2 separate regions of the Homo sapiens genome follow, and region 1 is linked to region 2. The links are contacts of gene promoters, found by promoter capture Hi-C in human tissues and cell types (Jung and others, 2019). All regions are on one chromosome and are shown on one strand. Each heading gives the region's core, a stretch centred on a gene start or on the middle of the fragment in contact. The rest is flanking DNA. Distances are from core to core; before and after follow the strand shown. Region 1 overlaps LINC02848 (long intergenic non-protein coding RNA 2848). Region 2 holds the start of ERV3-1 (endogenous retrovirus group 3 member 1, envelope).

Region 1 (3,072 bases), core at 199-2,698, 1.1 Mb after region 2:
TAGGCAGGCCTGCTGACATCAGTCTCACTGTGAATCTTAAAGCAGCCCTGTAACCCAGTTCTAATCCCAGTCAGCCAGTGTCTGGGAGCAGTCCTACCCACCCAGAAACCTGGAGGGAAATACACCATGGACCCAGAGACAGAACTGAAGAATTTAGCCTCACTCGTGTATCCTGAAGCAGCCCTATAAATTAGTTCCCATGGCTCTCAGCTTTGATTAGGGGTCAGTACTGCCCATCCAGTAAGCTGTCTAATAACTGGATTAGCGCACTCCCAGAGACCTAGTGGGAGCCACACCTGTCTACATCTATTCTACCAGCACCCCATATGCAGAAACAACTGCAATTTCTTATCTCAGCACTAGTCCTGATAATCGATATTCTAAAGAAGGTTGACTCTTGGCCGGGCGCGGTGGCTCACGCCTGTAATCCCAGCACTTTGGGAGGCCGAGGCGGGCGGATCACGAGGTCAGGAGATCAAGACCATCTTGGCTAACACGGTGAAACCCCTTCTCTACTAAAAATACAAAAAATTAGCCGGGCGCGGTGGCGGGCGCCTGTAGTCCTAGCTACTCAGGAGGCTGAGGCAGGAGAATGGCGTGAACCTGGAGGCGGAGCTTGCAGTGAGCCGAGATAGTGCCATTGCACTCCAGCCTGGGCAAAAGAGCGAGACTCCGTCTCAAAAAAAAAAAGAAAGTTGACTCTTCCAGGGAACAGACAGAATTTATAACTGTCTTATGTGTTAATAACGGGTCTGCCAACCACGAAACCCACTAAAGACCAAGTAGCAATTATGTGACCTGGCTCCAACAAACTCAACTGCAATGTCAATTAAAATCTCATCAGCCCAGGGACCCAATAGGAGAAAGTATTTATCTTTCAAAACTCTCCTATGATTAGTGGAAGATGTGTTTACTCCTTCATATTCAGGGACACAGACATAAGCCTGCACAGATCTTAAAGAATCTGAAAATCATGAACATCACCCAAAGAAACTAATAAAGCTCTAGTAAAAATCTGCAAAGAAATGGAGATCTCAGAATTGGCCAACATAGAATTAAAAATAATCATCAAGAGATTTCAATAAAATCCAAAAGAACACCAATAGATAACTAAAAATGTTATGAAATGACACAGAAACAAAATGAGAATTATAATAAATAGGCTGATCATGTTGGCTTACACCTGTGCTAACTGCAATTTGGGAGGCTGAGGCTGGAGAATTGCTTGGGACCAAGAGTTTAAGACCAACCTGGCCAATAGAGCAAGACCCCACCTATATTTAAAAAATTATTTTAATAGATAAATAGAAACCATAAAAAACAACCACTTCGTGAGATCTTCGCTGTGGTGAAGATGGCCATGGTGGCAGCTGACAGGACAGCCGGGGTCTATTTTGTTGCAGGTTTTCAGCAAATCCAGGGCTGGTCTGGAGGTGTGAAGCATACAGAACAATGGAGTATATGACAGAATCGACTGACCGCAGCCCTGGACTCATCCTGTGCTGTGAGTGTGGTATTGCAATAAGTCCCAATCCTGCCAATATTTGTGTGGCCTGTTTGCAAAGTAAAGTGGGCATCAGCCAAGATATTCCAAAACAAGTCTCACTTTTGTTCTACAAACAATGTCAAAGGTATTTTCAGCCACCAGGAACTTGGATACGGTGTGCTTTAGAATCCAGGGAACTTCTTGCTTTGTGTTCAAAGCCCCTCTGAGTAAGGAACGGCTTGTGAATGCAGGCTTTGTTTGGACTGAGCCCCATTCTAAGAGATTTAAAGTTAAACTGACTCCAGAAAGAGGTGATGAATGGTGCTGTCCTTCAACAAGTGTTTGTGGTGGATTATGCTGTTCAGTCCCAAATATGTGGAGATTGCCATAGAGTAGAAGCTAAGGGTTTCTGGAGGGCTGTGATTCAAGTGAGGCAAAAGACTTTGCACAAAAAAGCTTTCTACTATCTGGAACAGTTAATTCTGAAATATGGAAGGCATCAGAATACACTTCGTATCAAAGAGATTCATGATGGTCTGGATTTTTATTATTCCTCAAAACCACATGCTCAGAAGATGGTCGAATTTATTCAGTATACAGTTCCCTGTAGATACAACGCATCCCAAAGACTGATCTCTCAGGATGTCCATAGTAATACATACAATTACAAAAGCACTTTTTCTGTGGAAATTGTTCCAATATGCCAGGATTATGTTGTCTGTCTGTCTCCAAAACTGACACAAAGCCTGGGAAATATGAACCAGATTTGTGTGTGTATTCGAATAACCAGTGCCATTCACCTCATTGATCCAAACACCCTACAAGTTGCAGATATTGATGGCAGCACTTTCTGGAGTCACTCTTTCAGTAGTTTATGTCACCCCAAACAGCTAGAGGAATTTATTGTGATGAAATGCAGCATAGTCCGAAATATAAAACACGGTGCAGATGCTGGAATGATATCAAAAAAGCATACCCTCAGGGAAGTCTGGGTACAGAAGACATCTGAAATGAATACAGATAAACAGTATTTTTGTCATACTCATTTGGGACATCTTCTAAATCCTGGAGAGCTGGTGTTAGGGTTTGATTTGGCCAGCTGCAATTTAAATGATGAGCATGGCAACAAAATGAACTCAGATAGAGTTCCAGATGTGGTATTAATCAAGAAGAACTAAGACTGGACCAAACATCAGTGATGTAGAAACTGGAAACTGAAAGAGCTTGCAGGAGAGAGAACATGGATACAGATGATGAAAGGCAATACCAAGATTTTCTTGAAGATCTTGAAGAAGATGAGGCAATTAGAAAAAATGTCAACATTTACAGAGAGTCAACCATCCCTGTGGAAAGTGATGATGATGAAGGAGCACCTGGAATTAGTCTGGCTGAGATGCCTGAAGACTTTCATATTTCCCACGATGCCACTGGTGAAGAAGGTGCGTCAATGATGATATAATGAGATGTTGTAGACTGTTTCCACATATGTGGGCTTAAGAAGTTGGAAAAAATGACCTTAAGTGTCTCTTCCATCTATGCCTCCAGATTTCAAGAGGAGAAATTAAGTTTTAAACCTGAATAAACAT
Region 2 (3,324 bases), core at 1-2,500:
TTGAACTCGTGAGCTCAAGTTATCCTCCCAGCTCAGCCTCCTGAGTAGCTGGGACCACAGGTGCACACCAACACGCCTTGCTAACTTTTATTTTTATTTTTGAGACACAGTCTCGCTCTGTCACCCAGGCTGGAGTGCAATGGTGCGTTCTTGGCTCACTGCAACCTCCACCTCCTGGGTTCAAGTGACCCTCCTGCCTCAGCCTCCCAAGTAGCTGGAATTACAGGTGCACGCCACCAGGCCCAGCTAATTTTTGTATTTTTATAGAGACAGGGTTTCACCATGTTGGCCAGGCTGGTCTTGAACTCCTGACCTCAGGTGATCCGCCCACCTCAGCCTCCCAAAGTGCTGAGATTACAGGCGTGAGCCACCGTACCCAGCCCATGGCTAATTTTTAAACTTTTTTGTAGAGATGGAGTCTCACTATGTTGCCCAGGCTGGTCTCAAGCTCCTGGCTTCAAGCAGTCCTCCCACCTCAGCCTCCCAAAGTGCTGGGATTACAGGCATGAGCCACCATGCCCAGCCGCAGAAGGGCAATTATTACACAGTGACAGTGGAAGGAACAGAGACACAGTCGGTGGATGGTGGGAAGATAAGAACATTCACTCTGAGGGCTTCTAGTAACGTTGGAGAAGTGAGCATCAGCTTAGCAGAAGGGAGGGAGGGAAGGAAGCACAGGAGGTTTGAGGAGAGAGAGAGAGGAAGTATGAAATCAGAGCTGCACTTCAATGTGGTGGCTATTGGCCATGTGTGGCTACAGGATAGCTGGAATATGGCTGGTCTGAACTGCGATGTGCTAGAAAGGTAAAATACAGGGTTAGATTTAAAGATTTAGTTCCAAGAATATATACACTACATTAATAATTACATATTGCTCCTATACTAAAATAATATTTTGGATATATTGGGTTATTAAATGGTTAGAATGAATTTCACCTGTTTCTTCTTTCTTCTTAACTACTAGAAAATTTAGAATTCACACATGGCTCACATTTTATTTCAGACGGTTGCCTTACAAGGCAAATGCCGTCTGGGGAGGGCCTGGGTCAGCTCAGGGAGGAAGCTCTGCCTGAAAAGGCTTAGGGTTCACTCTACATTCAGCCCAGCATCTGAGCACGTCTTCTGTCAATCAAGGCCTGAGAGGGTGGGGCCCTAAACATTATCCAATCAGGGACGCTGGGCTGGGACCCGTCCAATCAGGCACTCAGCTGGAGCAGACAGGACGGCTTCCGGGTTTGGTGGGGCCTTTGTCTCTGGCGGCAGCCGGAGCTTCTGGTGTAGTCTTCACTGCTCTGTGTCTTCTGCTCCTAGAGGCCCAGCTTCTGTGGCCTCGTTACCTGCAGGTATTGGGAGATCCACAGCTAAGACGCCAGGACCCACTGGAAGCCTAGAAATGGTGAGAGTGCCGGGTCCGACATCCCGAGAGAGGGGGCGGGGCTGGTTGGAACTGGTGGGAAGTGGCTGTGGCGGGACTCTGGCCTCCCCGCAGCTGGCTCCAAAATCCGCGGCCCCGAGTTCTCCTTGGCGCAGCTCGGCCCTCAGTCCCCTTCAGCCATAGGATGGCGGCCGGGCTGACAGCTCGGACCCCGGGCATCCTGTCTCCTCCCTGCGCAGTGACTGTGCCTTGTTCTGGAGTCCTCTGTGGGCAGCTCTGCCCCCACTGCCGCAGCTCTCCCCGATTGTGCAGGGACCACTGGACGGTCGTCAGGGGAGAATACTGACTCAGGATGCAGAGTTCATGAATGGGAAGAGCTTTGGTCTGCGGGGTTCCCAGTCCCCCTTTTTTTCTATTAAAAATTTGTGGAAGTCTCCGCAGAAATATTAAAGAATTTAATTAAAGAGTAATTCAAGAATTGTAGAGCACCAAGCTATGTTTTGTAGTTTGTGGTTTATGGAAGGGGCTTGAAGAAAACACTTTTATAAAGTGCATGATAAAGGAAAGCAAATTCAATAATTGGTTAGGTAAAGTTATGTAGTTTCTTAATTTGTACGATCAAGGTGGAAATTCCCTGGTCATGTAATGAGAGGTTAATTGGCAGTTTATAGTTGGTTAAGCCTGAATTTTATTTTCCCCCAATGTAATACTTTAGAAAAAAATCATTCGAGTTAGATTTTTTTGCAAGTAGCAACCCTAGGACTGGAGCCACCTCAGTCTAATTGCCTGCCACTTAATTATTTTCACACTCCACAGGGCACTGATTTTCCTCTGCATTTTTCACTTCTGTCTCAAGCAGGGTCTCAAGACTTCTCCCCATTTCCCATTCCTCCAGCCTAACTCTGGCTTGCAGTAAAATACTAAATTTCCAGTTCCTTCTGACATTCCCAAATGCCAATTTCCCCTCCCTAATTCACATTATCAACTATTTGTCCTTTAATGTACACTTTAGTGTACATTTTAGGTACCATATTTTAATTAATCATTTTTTGACAAAGCATTGGCTGGCATTTTAAAAAAGATTTGTTTTCTGTTTGTAAAGATTTCCCAAGAGAAGAAAGCAAAGAATAATCCCCTGACACTGTATTGTAAAAAATGTTCTGTGCCTCCTTTCCTTTTATTGCCTCTAGCCACAGAAACCTTATCAGAATATTTTTGGGTCAGGGTTTCCCTTTGGAAACTTTATAAGGTAATGTGTCCTCAGCCACCCTTCAGTTTTTTCCCTGGTTCTGGGTTTCAGTACTGTCTGGGGATAAATCAAGATATCCACTGTGGCTGTGTATGCTACAATGTCTAGTAAATTTCAGCTCCTGGCCTGGAATGAAACTTCGCATATCTGGGAATGGGAGACAGGACAGCCTGAAGTTGGAGTGTAGCCTCTCAAGGGAGCAGGTGGATGCCCTGAGGCTGAGAGGAGTCTCCTGGGGTACTCTTCCTTTGAAAAGCAAACCCTTAGAGAAGTTAAGATTGTCTTCAAGCAACCCGGGTTCCATTTCTCGAAGACACATTGCTGGTCAGCCAATCAGATGGTGGTAATGAGGGAAAAACAAATAATTACTGCCACCTGGATTCTCCAAGAATTATGAAAGAGAAAATAGTATCCCAAAAGACAAAAAAAAAAAAAAAAAAAAAATCAAACCTGGCCCCAGTGAGATGGTGCAGCAACTTGCAAAGTGAAATGCACCTTGGGGCACTCAATGGGGCCTAGTACAGTGTCTCTGGAGAGGGTGGTCACTGAGCACTTAAGTGAGCAGGATGGGGGTGGGAGAATCTCTCAAGGGATTGGGTGGCCTGACTTGACATATGAGTCAAACACATCTGTTTTTTAATGAGCACCGTAGCTCCCTGGGTTTGTCACCTTGAAAAGGTTTGTTCACTTATTTTGACTA

What was found. Contacts are between HindIII fragments. The study calls those that stand out against the background at their distance.
Region 1: a contact is called between a fragment that was not itself captured here and the fragment with the promoter of ERV3-1 in region 2, in 1 of the 25 tissues and cell types used here (dorsolateral prefrontal cortex).

The regions. Positions count from the first base shown.
Region 1 is chr7:63,908,833-63,911,904 of GRCh38, reverse strand. The region is part of intron 5 of LINC02848 (long intergenic non-protein coding RNA 2848); the gene reads right to left. It also overlaps the pseudogene NMD3P1. Among named protein-coding and RNA genes, the nearest start is that of LINC02848, 10 kb to the right of the region's middle. The HindIII fragment of the contact is 3,533 bases long and covers 1-3,072 here.
Region 2 is chr7:65,004,613-65,007,936 of GRCh38, reverse strand. ERV3-1 (endogenous retrovirus group 3 member 1, envelope) reads left to right here and starts at 1,250. Exons shown (of 2, transcript NM_001007253.4): 1 at 1,250-1,396. It overlaps ERV3-1-ZNF117 (ERV3-1-ZNF117 readthrough), which reads left to right and starts at 1,191. Exons shown (of 4, transcript NM_001348050.2): 1 at 1,191-1,396. RefSeq lists a silencer at 990-1,159 and an enhancer at 1,260-1,319. The HindIII fragment of the contact is 15,538 bases long and covers 1-3,324 here.